Linked DNA regions of Homo sapiens: all the other regions are linked to region 1. The links are contacts of gene promoters, found by promoter capture Hi-C in blood cells and fetal thymus (Javierre and others, 2016). All regions are on one chromosome and are shown on one strand. Each heading gives the region's core, a stretch centred on a gene start or on the middle of the fragment in contact. The rest is flanking DNA. Distances are from core to core; before and after follow the strand shown.

Region 1 (2,700 bases), core at 191-2,690:
GGCACTCACTACATTCAGAACTTTCCTTAAAAGCCGAGGAAAGAGCCCCCAGGGACTGCCCGGGGGTCTGAGCCAGGTCGAGGGCCACACAGGTAGCCGGGGAGCCGCCGCCGGCCGCCCAACCCGCCTGTCCTGCATCCCCCCAACCCCCTCCCGCTCGAGTCTAGCCCCGGGCTCCGCAGCGAAGGAAGCGTCGGGGACGTCCCACCCCCGCAGGGAACTGCGCCTGCTGCCCCCGCCGGGCCCCGCACTGCCCTGGCTCTCCCCCCACTCGCCCCCCAGACGGTCGGCTTCGGCGGAGAGAAACGGGAGCAGCAATGCCTTTTCCCCCCCTCTCCTCCACTTTTTTTTGTTGTTGTTGTTGCTTTCCCACGCTGGCTGAATGTGACTTGACCCCATTTCAAAAAAAGTTTGACATAGTGCTTCAACATTTCCGCATTCCTCCGCGACTACAAAGGCTGCAGCCGCCTCCTTCTGCTTTCTGTCTCTGCTCTCTGTCTTCACACTCAATGAAATCCTTCATGCGCCTCTCCCGAAGCCTGCCAAGCACCACAAGGGTCGCCACCAGCACAGCGACAAGAGGCCACACCGGGGACCGCGACTCCCGCGTGTGCGCACACGCAGATGCGCCCATATGCACACGGACGGGCGCGCTGCGGGGACCAGGGCTGCTCACTGCGGGGCGTGTGTTTAACTCCAATATTTTAAATTATAAAAGTAAACTTGGAAACTACAGCAAACGTGCGTCTTCGCGGGGCTCCAAGCCTGGGCACTGGCCGGCTGCGTGCACTTTTCTGTGTATAACACGCCCGCAGGAAGCCTGCGTTAACATTTATCTCGTGGAGGGGAAGGTGGAGCCCACACCCACACCTCAGCGAGCTGGAGAGGGAGTTTTCGAGGGGGAAATGCAAGCACATTCTCCAGCATGGAGTCCCTAGAGGCAGTGCATTTTAAACCCTAAATGTGAATTATTATGTGAGTGTCCGAGTAGAGTTCCAGTTCCGTTTGGAGAAACTGTATGAGGCGTGTTCCGTGTGGGTGTGTGTGCGTACGGATACGTGGAAGCAGGATCTCGGTGTCGCGGGTGTCCCTAGGCTGGGATCTCCCCCTCTCATCAGATAAGGAGAATCCTCTAGCTCCCCAAAACTGGCCCCCATAACCAATCCCGTCTCAGTTCGTAAGGGGTTAACCAAAGCCGATTCCAAGGAAACACAGGTCCCCCCCACCCCCCGCCACCCTCCACTTACCCCACCCACAGTTCTGCCTCGGACCCCGGCCAATCCCCCAGATCTCCCCCGGGACCCCCCACCCCGCAGCCCACCCACCCGAGCGCACAGCTCCTCACCTGAGGGGCCCAGTCGCGTCGGGCCTCCCGAGGGGGCTGCGAGTGTCAGTCGGCTCTCCGCACGTGTCCGCGGCCTCGCGGAGCAGGTAATCAGACTCTGGGGAAGGAGTTACCAGCACTCTCTCCGGCGAGGGGGTGGGCACAGCGGCGGAGGGCGGAGGGACGGCGGAGGGCGCCGCCCGCGCCGCTCGCTGGGGGCGGACGGGGGCCGCTGGGCTCCGGCCGGCGCTGGGGGCCCCAGCCGGGGAGGCAGCTGGGGCGACCGTGCGGGGTGGGGGCAGGGACCCGCGAAGCCAACTCTGCCGGAGACCCACCCCCCGGCGGGGCTGGGGGCTCGTGGCGCAGTGGCAAGAAAGTGTGCAAATTAAAGCCTTCCGGAGAGAAATGAGGCGGCCGAGTCCCGGCAGTGCTCCGAGCTCCGGGCTCCCTAGCTCCCTTCTACGAGTCGGGGGCTAGAAGGGCGCGGTGGGGGTGGGGGTGGGGGGGAGAGTTAAATGAAAATTTCCGGCTTTCGCTGAAACTGTAGTAGGGGGATCCTGCGACTAAAATAAGCGGCATTAGTGGGAGAGAGTGGGACGTGTCGTCGGGAGTCGGCGGAGTTTCCAAACCCAGGGTCGCCCAGAGTTGGGGTTTTGACAGGGTGAAGCGGGGGGCATCCTCACTGTGTGACGTGGACGGATGGGAAAAACACAAAACAACCAACAATAATTATGAGCGGCCAATGGGGGTGGTAAATACCAATACTTTCCAAGAAACTGAAAAATCAGACCAAAAAATAACTCTTCTCTTAAAAAAATAAAGAAAAAGTTTGGCAGGATGCCTTGCAGAAAAGAAAATACTAATCTATCCAAGCACTTTTCACTTTCAGCATGAGCTACATTTGTTTTGTTTTCCTTCGCTTCCTTTCTGCCTCACAAAGCCCTATCTTTTCCTTTTAGACAGAGGATATGGTTTGGAAATTGTCAGGCACTCTTATGGTTAACGATCTACTTGAAGGGGCTGGCGGGCTCACAATTATTAAGTGGTTAGTAACTGCTGAGGGTTCACTAACGTATTTCAGAGGAGCTAAAAAGACTAAAATTTAGTGTAAATAATAGAACTGCAGATAGTAGATACATACACAAAAAGAGGAGTGCTCAGTTTAAATGCATTATTGGAAATCTGAAATTTGAAACCTTGTAAGAATGTATACTTTACCTGCTGAGAAACCCTTGAATACAATTATTTCAGGTGAAAATTAGATTTTGGAGAAAAAAAAGTCTTTAAAACTTTCTACAATGGAGTAAAAGAAAACTTGAAATAGCTGTCTTTTTGGAAAGAATTTGGTGTTCTCCCCAAAATCTCTATCTGTAGAA
Region 2 (2,700 bases), core at 80-2,579, 280 kb after region 1:
GTGAGGTCCTAAAGTTTTACTAGGTGTTTATTATTGCAGTCTCAGATTATGAACTTTTGACTTCTGCATCCCACTCAGTGTTGATTCAATACTGGTTTTAGAGTTGTCTAAAAACTGACTACACCCTCGTCTAGTAACCATTCTATCTGAGTCACTTTCTTGTATCCATTTACTGAGTCACGTCTACTCCACCCTATGAAAGTATGCTCACTTTTGTTGCACCCACACTATTTAACACATAAAGCAGGGGTCCCCGATTATTGTGCTGCTAGCGTGCGCTGGCTCCTGAGGCCTCATACCTATGGCTCTCATCCCCCATCTCGCCGCTTCCCACCAGTACCCTTTTCCTAGGGTCTCCCTGACTTCCTTCATCAACTTGGACCTTTCACAGTTTTACAGACACAGTCCTTAGTCTCTGGTGATATGTCATAAACTAGATTATGAGACTGGTGAATTAGATGGATTATTTGATTCATGCAAGAACTACATACCATTATATGTGAAAACGTAAAGTCAGGTTCTCATATAAGAGTGTGGGGGATGGAGAACTGGGCCTGAACATTTGGTTGGGAAAGTAAGCAAATAATAAAGAAGTGACTTTTGACTGTTTTCTCTACTAGAGACACTATGAATATTTCAAATGTCATTGAACAGGTTACACTTTCACACTTCTTCCCCTAAAGCTTTTGTCAGATTATTGATAGCTGTGCCTTTCAATACATTATTTTAAAAAAATTGTTGATGATGTCACTCTTGGAGAAAATATATGCCAGCATTCATAGGTATTTATGCCACTGTTCATAGATATTTTACATATTAATGATTTCTTTATACCCTCTCGTTCCAAAATGTTTTTTAGGTAATTTAGAAAGTAATATAGGATCACACATATATTAAAACCCTTAGGTAAAGAAATCATGGGGAAGGCTAAATAAGGGTAGGGGGAGAAAAGGTGAAATGAGGGAGTAAAATTAGTACCTAAAATTACTGGTTTTGATTCCGTATACTTTAAAAACTGACCTGAAAATTTGGTTCTGAGCATCTTAGTAGGAAACACTATTTGTTACTGATTGAACCCACATACATTTTTTAACTCTGGTTGGTGTTAAACTGTAGGGTTTGTTAACTTTTCTAGAAGGGAGTTGAAGGTCAGACCTTTATTCAGAAATGTGATCCTCCAACCGTCTTGCATTATCTTACTGTTTGCTTTGGGGAGAAATTAGACATAAACCTAGTATTTTTGCCAGGAACATAAAGCTGCCTTAATTCCAAAGACTTCCCATAGTAGTCTATCTGTCTGTCTGTCTTCCTATGTATGTCATCCGACAACAATATCTGAGAAGCTCTCAGAGAGTTTTGTTTTCTGGAAGCTACCTATTTCTTAGAGTAGATGGTGGAAGTTGTATTTGATTAAAGTAAAGTACTTTTAAGTTTTCATTGCCTGTTCTTTATCTATCTTTCCGTTTGTTGTTGTTGTTGTTGTTGTTGTTGTTGTTGTTTTTGAGACAGTGTCTCACTCTGTTGCCTATGCTGGAGTGCAGTGGTACAATTACAGCTCACTGTAACCTTAAATTCCTGGGCTCAAGCAATCCTTCTGCCTCAGCCTCCAAAGTAGCTAGACTGCAGCTGCGTGCCACCACATCCAGCTATTTTTTTTTTTGGTAGGAATCTTGCTAGGTAGGGTCTTGCTATGTTGCCCAAGCTAATTTTGAATTCCTGGCCTCAAACAATTCTCCTGTCCTTGCCTTCCAAAGTGCTCAAATTACAGGCTACCACACCTGGCCTGTTTGTTCTTTCTGAAGATGCTGTATGCCTTGGGAGAGTTCATCAATAAAAGTGTCTGTAGTTTTCAACTGCATCTTTAATGAAATGTTATGACTAATTTTTCAACTAATATAAAGCAGACTGCTGTCAGAGCAACAAATAGTCTAGAATTTCTAGGCTTAGAATACTATTTTTTGTTTTGAGGTATATTTGAAGCTTCTAATTGAAAAGTATATTTCTTTCTATTCAATAAAATGCTGCTATAGATAGTAAGAACAATATTAATAATAGATATTGTACTTACCCAGTAGTCTTGCAAATTTCTTTTACATATATGTGGGGAAAACCATCTCTTTTAGTGCTGAAAATATCTGATGTGTTTGTTTTCTTCCTCCTACGATGCTAGAGAAAAGTATTTTCCTCATTCTGGTTTTAACGGAAGTCTATGTATTCTCTGCTTCTGTCTCACAGCAAGCTCTAATTGGCTCAGAAACAGCAGGGCGTGTTTAACAACTGGGAGGTTGGGGAAGGAAGAATATAGGTTTGGTTTCAGTTTCATTTCTCAGATCTGAAATTACAGCACCGCCTTTTCTATCTGAAATGCTTTTTAATAAGCTATGGCTATATACCACCTTCTGGTCTGCTTGGTTAAAATCTGAAGGCTTAACAATTTTTCCTCACTTGAGAGTTTTGAGGGCTGCAGAAAGCCCCATTGTCTTGTTATAGACAAACTGTGGGATATTCTGGCTTAATTGATCCCTTGGGAATATGAGTTTACATTGCAGTCCCAGCCTTGTAGAGCACCAGGTTGGAGATACTCTAGGTCAATATTTCACTGGCCTTTAAGGGTGGAGTTACTGTCCATTCCTGTTTTCCTAAAGTGTAAAGAATGTCTTTCAGGGATAGGACTTCTTTGAGCACCCCAATAAGTGCTAA
Region 3 (2,700 bases), core at 175-2,674, 400 kb after region 1:
GAACAAACCGCCCAAGACTAGTAACATACTATTTTTCTCCCTCACTCATTGAAAGGCATATTAAACCTCCTTAGGCCTTTTTTTTTTTTCCAGCGAGCATTCCTAGAAATTTTTTTGCAGTCAATTACATGTTCCCATGGGAACAATGCGCTAATTTGTGGGAGATTGGAGCCTGACCAATGACTTCTACCTAATAATTTACTCATTTCTTTGTTGTTTACTCTGTTTCTGGAACTTTGCTAGCCACTGGGCTGCAGAGGCAAATAGGACTTTGTCTCTCCCTTTCCTTAGGACTTAAAGTTTGGAAGAGAAAGATATATTTAAAATTTAAAACTTTACTACTTTGGCTGAGGTATTGTCTTGGAAGATGTCTTACTGAGGTATTGTTTTGGGAAAATGCACATTCCTGGCCCAAATCTAGAAAAACCTATTCATTAGGTTTATTTTAGGGCCTAGGAATCTTACTTTTAACAAGTTCCCTGGGTGGTGTTGATGGACATGATCCAAGGGTTATACTGAGAAATACTGTGTTCTTTGGAGCATAGGGATTTAGGAAGACTTTGTAGAGGAGATAATTCTGAAAGTGATGTATTGCTTTCTCATTTCTTGGAGTGGTAAGTGTGCCTGAGAGAGGGAGACGGGGAGAGAAGGGTGGGTAGGTTAGATATTCTGGGGGTAATGGAAAACTTGCGGTTGAGGCAGAGCACTTTGTAATAAAAAATTTTAGATATGACTAGTGGTATTTTACAACAGGGAAGAGAAAATACACATCTCTGTAGTTTAAAGATAAGCAAGTTCTGCTCTGAGTCTCAAATAGTCAACATAAGCATACCATATATTTTGGTTACTAAGGATCCCCAATATAGGGCACCTAAAGGACAATTTGTATCATAAATCTCTCCTCAAATTAATAATAGCTAATTTTGCCTAAAAACTAATATTGCAGGGACATTAAATGTCTGCTTCGAATAGCCTATTTTTAAAAAGAGGATTTTAAAGAAAATGTAAATTGCTGATTTCTTTCTATTTTAATAATTTCCCCTGGTACAAATAAAGCTTTCAGAATCCCTCAGTTGATGTGAATATAGAAAGTACAGGGCACCAAAGAACTAAAGGACAGGTAAAAGACAGTGAGATATGAGACTTCAATCTTAATTTATGCAGCATGAATTGGATACATTGGTGGGAAATAATCAAGTAAAATGAAGGGATTACTTATATGTTAGCTTAGTTGGTTAGTATATTGTATCTGTGAATCATAATACTATTGCTTGGACTTTTTTCCTGATGGATTTAGTAATTATTATTGTATATACAAGTGGCTTTTATAGAATGCTTTTTGTTATGTAAGTTTCTTTACTTTTGGCTGTTTTCAAATCATAGATGGGTTGGACTTCTACCATTAGTTGTGAAGTTGCCGTATAATACTCTTTTATTTTAAAATACCAAAAGTACACCCTTCTCTGATTTAATAATAGTACTATATGTATTAAATGATGATTGCTTTTAGAATATATCTTCCATATTTTGAAGCAGGAAAATTTCTATTTTTAAAGTGGTCATTTCTGTTTCAGTAGGTGTATTCTATCCTTTTATAATTCTTCAGCATGATTAAAATTTTCCTCATCTTATTATTTTTTTAAGGGTCTGAAAAGCCCTCAAGAAAGCCTCAGTGATCTTGGTGCCATAGAGAGTCTCCGGGTCCCTGGAAAGGTATTGAGCTACACGTGTGAGCGTGACTTTTTACTTCCTTAAGAAAATATGATTGCCTCTGGATAGTAATTGATTCACAGAAGCTTTTCTTTCCCACAGGCAGATGGTTGTTAAGATAAGCTAGGTAAATTTTTATTGTATAGTAGGTGTAGGGCTTGTTTCATTACACGTTGGGATGCAGTATGTATGATGCATTATAGCAAAGCAAAAAATGCAAACTTGATAAATTTGGAATTTATTATATTAAATTCTTAGCCTGAAAGCAGTTGTATATATGTGTATGCACACACACACACACACACACACACACACACACTCTCTCTCTCTCTCTCTCTCATTGATTTATCTGCTGTAATTTGTAGAAATAAAGTGAAATAGTTGACTACTGACTTTTTATACTCCTAACATTCTGTGCCAAAAATCATGATTATATTTTTGTTGTGGAGCAGAGGTTTTTGAAAAAGCATCTAAACCATAGTATTTATACTGAATTGTATAACTTATCTCCTAGATTGTAGGTATTTTAGATTTTAATCCTCTGATATTCACGTGAATTTCTCAGTTTACAAATTTTATATAGGTTATTTGAAAGCTAGCTAGATTCCCCTTGGAATTATTAAGTATTGTTAAATCCCTGCTGTTTTTCTGGAGTGTTGCTGCTTGGAGCTGCCCATGTGAATAGCTGCTCCATCACAGATTAAGCTGGCACTTCTGAATGTCTGTTTTTGTATTTTTTAATTTGAGAGTGATACGTGAAAATACTGTTTGTTTTCTGCATCAGGCATTTGAATACACAGGGTGTGCTTCTCTTGATCAGCAGTTTAAGGCCTCTCCTTACACCTCGGTGTCAGCTCCTTAGGAGGATGATTTCTCATCTCTTTCAGGTGCCTTACCTGCTAAAGTGAATTTTGTATTTACTGCATTGTTTTTATTTTGGGTTAGGCTGAAACATATTCTCCAAATGCAATAAAATTATAACCAACCCTT
Region 4 (2,700 bases), core at 140-2,639, 270 kb before region 1:
ACCTGGGATGTCTCGTAGGCATATCTGAAATTAGCACAACAAAATGCTTCATTTTTCTCTCCAAATCCTCAGCCATCTTAGTAACTGGCACTACTTATCTGTCATTTTGCTTAGGTCAAAGAATCTAAGCTATCTCTGATTCTGCTCTTTAACTCCAATGTCCGCATTCAAAGTACCAAGCAAGTCTTACCATCTAAGTTCAAAATGTATCTCAAATCCATCCTTGCCAGTCCAACTCCATTACTATCACTGCTGTACAAACATCATTCCTCACTTGTGCCCACTTATCTCCTGTACCAAAGGATTTACAAAATGTAAAATATTTAGGTCACCTCTTTGTTTAAAACCCTCAGAACAGCTTCTTATAACATTCTGATGAAAACACACTCTGCTGTGTAATGTAAGTAAGCCTCTGCTTACTTCCTACCCTCATTGTATGGCATTCCTCTTTCCCCACCAGGCATTAAGCCACTTACCTTCTCTTAGTCCCTCAAATATATCAAGCTTATTCTCACTATAGGTCTCTAAGAGCTCTTCCCTCTGCCTAGGATATTCTTTCCTTTGATATTCACATGGTTGGCTCTTTCTTGTAAATCAGATTTCAGCTTAATTTCACTTCCTCAGCGAGGATTTCATGAGCCCGTCCCCACAGTATCTCTCTCACGTATCATATTCTTCTATCTCATACTCTTTTGTACTCTTAAGACTTAGAAAAGTGCCTGCATAGAGTTGCTTCATACATACACACTAGCTGAAAGCATGAAACAGTGAAAGTATGCAAATACTTATTTGGTTATGTCTTAATTAATTAATCCGAACCACAGACCAAAGCTATCTTCACCCAAACTACTTTCACATTCAGAACAAACAAACAAACAAACAAAAACTTATTCGTCATCGTAGGCTTGGAGCACATAAAATGTTATTTCTGAATCATTACTAGGGGAGCCTTCCTATCAGAGAAGGTACCTCGTTTTAAGAGTCAGGAAAATTCTGGGAAGGGGTTACTGAAACCTACAAATGATGATGTTTTCATTTTTCTTTCACCTTTCCCTAAGAAAATGCCTTCAAAGGTCATAGCTCACATTTATACTGAGGGCCCCTAAATTACTTTGCTGATATTGTTGGCATTACTCTTTGAAAATAATCTCTGTTAACCATTTTCTCTTGGTTGATCTGTTTCTTGTTTGGATACTACTTCTATTTTCCTTAATTCGCCTCTTCTTTCTCTTTTCTTCTCAATTTGCATTAATAGCAGAGTTTGGCTTTAAAAGCTATCAAAAGAATCTTTATTAATGAGTCATTTATGTTGTCATATTATTATTTTTTCATTGCAGCTAGTGCTTGGAGAGGCTTTTTCTGTTATTACCAGATTTGGCTGATTTGGAAGTAACTATTATCAAAGATAACAGAAATCACCATACTTTGGTCTCTCGTATTTCATATTGTAGCTTAAGGAAGTCAAACAGAAATTTGAGCTTATATTTCTTTTTTTTTTTTTTTTTTTAAGACGGAGTCTTGCTCTGTTGCTGAGGCTGGAGTGCAGTGGGGCGATCTCAGCTCACTGCAACCTCTGCTGCCCAGGTTCAAGCAATTCTCCTGCCTCAGCCTCCCGAATAGCTGGATTACAGGCGCCCGCCACCACGCCCGGCTAATTTTTGTATTTTTTTTTTTAGTAGAGACGGGGTTTCACCATGTTGGACAGGCTGGTCTTGAACTCCTGACCTTGCAATCCACCCGTCTCGGCCTCCCAAAGTGCTGGGATTACAGGCGTGAGCCACTGTGCCCCACCTGAGCTTATATATATATATATGTTTTTTGAGACGGAGTCGCACTCTGTCGCCCAGGCTGGAGTGCAGTGGCGTGATCTCAGCTCACTGCAAGCTCTGCCTCCCGGGTTCACGCCATTCTCCTGCCTCAGCCTCCCGAGTAGCTGGGACTATAGGTGCCCGCCACCATGCCCGGCTAATTTTTTGTATTTTTAGTAGAGACGGGGTTTCACCGTGTTAGCCAGGATGGTCTCGAGCTCCTGACCTCATGATCCACCTGCCTCAGCCTCTCAAAGTGCTGGGATTACAGGCGTGAGACACAGCGCCCAGCCCTGAGCTTATATTTCTAACAGTAAAATACTGAAATGGAAACAGGACATGCTTGCTACCAGGGTATTTTTTATTTTTCCTGAACCATTTTGACTTTCTCCTACCCATTAAGTGAAGCTGCTGAACACACCACACCTTTCCCAACAAATACTTATTTGGTCCCAGTAAATCCAATCAAGCTTTACCATGACTCATTTTATATTAAACCAAAACACCTATTCTATTGTCTGTAAAAACGTTAAGAGATACTTGCTGTTGCTTTTTCTCGTTCTTCACTGCTTTTCTTCTTTTTTGCTCGCACCTAGAAAGTTTAAATTTTTGTGGAGAACAGAAGACAAACATGTAATTTGTACTCAAGGCATTTTTCTTTCATTCTCTATCTTGCATCTTCAAAATTTAAATGTAAAAAACATTTTGACAATCACAGGACATTTAAAATAACTCCTGTTATATCTCAATGAGGTTTCAATAAAAAACATAAAGGAAGGACAATTAAGACGTAAAATCTCTAGACAGCTTCTCTTATATTCCCTTTCAGCACCTAAAAAAATGTGGTACAGTGGAAAAAAACATCAGCTTTAGGCCGAGTGTGGTTGCTCTT
Region 5 (2,700 bases), core at 109-2,608, 310 kb before region 1:
GGTGGGAGGATCACTTGAGTCAGGGAGGTTGAGGCTACAGTGAGCCATGATAGTGCCATTACACTCCAGTCTGGGCAACAGAGTGAGAACCCGTCACACACACAAAAAGACTTATTATATCAGGAAGCTTCAGTGTTATTAATTTATTTATATCAAAATAAATTCATTAAGTTAAAAATATTAGGCCAGGTGCAGTGGCTCACATGTGTAATCTTTATACTTTGGGAGACTGAGACAGGAGGATTGTTTGAGCCCAGAAGTTCAAAGCCAGCCTGGGCAACATGGCAAGATCTACATCTCTACAGAACAGTTTTCATAATTTAAAATATTAAATATCAAATTCATTCATTTACATGCAATTTTTTTTTTCCTGAGACAGGATCTCACTGTGTTGCCCAGGCTCGAGTACAGTGGCAAAATCACGGCTCACTGCAGCCTTAACCTCCTGGGCTCAAGTGATCTTCCCACCTCAGTCTCTCAAAGTGCTGGGATTACAGGCATGAGCCAACATGCCCAGTCTTTATGTTTCTTGCTTTTTTTTTTTTTTTTCTTGAGACGGAGACTCACTCTGTCACCCAGGCTGGAGGGCAGTGGCACAATCTCGGCTCACTGCAACCTCCACCTCCCAGATTCAAGCAATTCTCCTGCCTCAGCCTCCCAAGTAGCTGGGATTACAGGCCCCCACCAAATGCCCGGCTAATTTTTGTATTTTTAGTAGAGATGGGGTTTTACCATGTTGGCCAGGCTGGTCTCGAACTCCTGACCTCAGGTGATCTGCCTGCCTCAGCCTCCCAAAGTGCTGGGATTACAGGCGTGAGCCACCATAGCCAGCTTATGTTTCTTTAAATGAGACAAATTTCAAACAATGTTGGAGCCACTTCTGGGACAATATAACGTACTGGAAATTAACCATGTTATTACAATTTTATATTTAAGAAAGCCATCATCATGTATCACTTAGTTGTGTAATTTTTCTCACAATTTTCACAGAACAGTCCAACTGTTCTGGCTGACAAATTCTTTCAACTGAGTGTATTTTGCCTAGATTTGGAATCAAAAGTCTTAAGTTACCATATCAGCTGTAACCGTGTGAGCTATTACAAGAATGAAGGTGATCAAGCCCCAGATGCTTTCTATGGGTTTTCATCAGAGTCAGCAATACATAATCCAGATAAATTCTACTTCATATGAAGAAACTTAAGAGATGGAAATATGAAAGATGCCCTGAAATATCAAAAAAGGAAACTCTACCAGCTCACTGAAAAAAGGAAAAATGAACCTTATTGAGGAGGAAAAATACTTCTAATTATTTATTTGGTCAAAAAGTAGTAACCAGCTCCATAAAGCCACAATATGTGCTCAGTTATATTGAGCAAACTCTGCAGACCAATGTTCTAAGTTAATTTTTATGTCAAAATACTTCACTTGAACCACAGAGCCCTGGCTATTCAGGTAAAGAGAAGAAAGAGACAGCTAGAAAGGAGCGTCTTTTCCAGGAGTCAAATCAAATCAATCAATTAATTGACCTTCTTTGACCCAAACTGAGGTATCAGTATTACCAGGAAATCTGCAGGTAAAACCATACATCAGAATGCCTTAGGAATAATCAGGTCCAAAGCCTAGGGTATCTCTTGCTAACACAAGGGAAATGAAAATTGTGTGGCCATATCCGAATGGTGATTTAGGTTCGTTTGCATTCACTGTGTATATGAATCCTCTCCCCCTGCTGCAATCACATCAAGTTCTGAGTACAGAGAAGATAACTTAGTTGAAGCGGTGGTTCTCAACCAGAGGTGATTTTGTCCTTCAGTAGACATCTGACAATGTCTGAAGACCTTTTTGGTTGTCACAGATAGGGGGAGGCAGTACAGGCGTCTACTGGATAGAGGCCAAGGGTGCTGTTAAACATCTTAAAATGTACAGGAGAGCCCCCAAAACAAAAAATTATCCAGCTCAAAATGTCAACAGTGCCAAGGTTGAGAAATCCTGACTTAAAGCATCTACTGGGTAGTCAGTCCTGAAATAATGACTTGAGTAAACAAGAGAATACAATACTTGAAACACAGTACAGAGTATATCAAATGTGATGTGTCACATAACACAACAGAGAAGTATTGAAAGGGAGACAAATGTGGGCAACAGAGAATTGGAAAGCTATGTGGAGGAGGTAGGATTATTCCTTTTTAAAGACATGGAATTTGTATGGAAGGAAGAAAAATGACTGAGGGAAGAATGGCATGAGTAAGAGAACAGAAGTGGGAAGGAGATTGGTTATAGAAGAAACAGTGAGAACGGTAGGTTGGGTGATGCAGAGTGAGCTATAGACAAGAGGGCAAATTAGCTGCATGGCAATGGTACTGGCCTAGGAATGCCAGTTTCCTTACATGTAAAAGTACAGAAACGACCTAGATGCTTAAGGTCTCTATCGTCATTAAAATTCTATGATTCTAGGACAGTAGGTCTCAACTCTTTTGTGCATCCAAGTAGCCTGAATAAATTTTTTAAAATTAGAGATGCCTAAAGCCTATTCCCTAAGATTTTAGGTCTGATTTAATAGGTCTGAGGGTTGATCAGAACATCTGTATTCTTAAAAGCTTCAAGGTAAGTCTGACATAGGCCAGAAAACCATTGTTCCAACCCTTCTTCCCATTACTGCATGATCTGTATTATGCACTCAATGCTTCACCCCAAATAAAGTAA

The links. Contacts are between HindIII fragments. The CHiCAGO score rates a contact against its expected background, and 5 or more counts as called.
Region 2: a fragment that was not itself captured here is called in contact with the fragment with the promoter of CDK6 in region 1 in 13 of 17 cell types (fetal thymus, monocytes, erythroblasts and 10 more); the score reaches 16.8 in fetal thymus.
Region 3: a contact is called between a fragment that was not itself captured here and the fragment with the promoter of CDK6 in region 1, in 2 of 17 cell types (neutrophils and fetal thymus). The highest score is 5.4, in neutrophils.
Region 4: a contact is called between a fragment that was not itself captured here and the fragment with the promoter of CDK6 in region 1, in 2 of 17 cell types (activated CD4 T cells and naive CD4 T cells). The highest score is 5.9, in activated CD4 T cells.
Region 5: a contact is called between a fragment that was not itself captured here and the fragment with the promoter of CDK6 in region 1, in 1 of 17 cell types (fetal thymus). The highest score is 9.3, in fetal thymus.

What each region holds. Positions count from the first base shown.
Region 1 is chr7:92,835,133-92,837,832 of GRCh38, forward strand. It overlaps CDK6 (cyclin dependent kinase 6), which reads right to left and starts at 1,441. Exons shown (of 8, transcript NM_001145306.2): 1 at 1,346-1,441. It overlaps CDK6-AS1 (CDK6 antisense RNA 1), which reads left to right and starts at 1,351. Exons shown (of 2, transcript NR_110088.1): 1 at 1,351-1,431. RefSeq lists silencers at 24-273, 1,384-1,743 and an enhancer at 854-933. The HindIII fragment of the contact is 6,850 bases long and covers 1-2,700 here.
Region 2 is chr7:93,115,795-93,118,494 of GRCh38, forward strand. SAMD9 (sterile alpha motif domain containing 9) reads right to left here and starts at 2,185. Exons shown (of 3, transcript NM_017654.4): 1 at 2,069-2,185. The HindIII fragment of the contact is 1,297 bases long and covers 682-1,978 here.
Region 3 is chr7:93,238,222-93,240,921 of GRCh38, forward strand. VPS50 (VPS50 subunit of EARP/GARPII complex) reads left to right here. Exons shown (of 28, transcript NM_017667.4): 2 at 1,645-1,713. Among named protein-coding and RNA genes, the nearest start is that of VPS50, 7.2 kb to the left of the region's middle. The HindIII fragment of the contact is 740 bases long and covers 1,055-1,794 here.
Region 4 is chr7:92,563,662-92,566,361 of GRCh38, forward strand. It overlaps FAM133B (family with sequence similarity 133 member B), which reads right to left. Exons shown (of 11, transcript NM_152789.4): 10 at 2,353-2,400. Among named protein-coding and RNA genes, the nearest start is that of FAM133B, 25 kb to the right of the region's middle. The HindIII fragment of the contact is 1,774 bases long and covers 503-2,276 here.
Region 5 is chr7:92,523,734-92,526,433 of GRCh38, forward strand. All of the region lies in intron 1 of PEX1 (peroxisomal biogenesis factor 1), which reads right to left. Among named protein-coding and RNA genes, the nearest start is that of PEX1, 3.4 kb to the right of the region's middle. The HindIII fragment of the contact is 2,467 bases long and covers 126-2,592 here.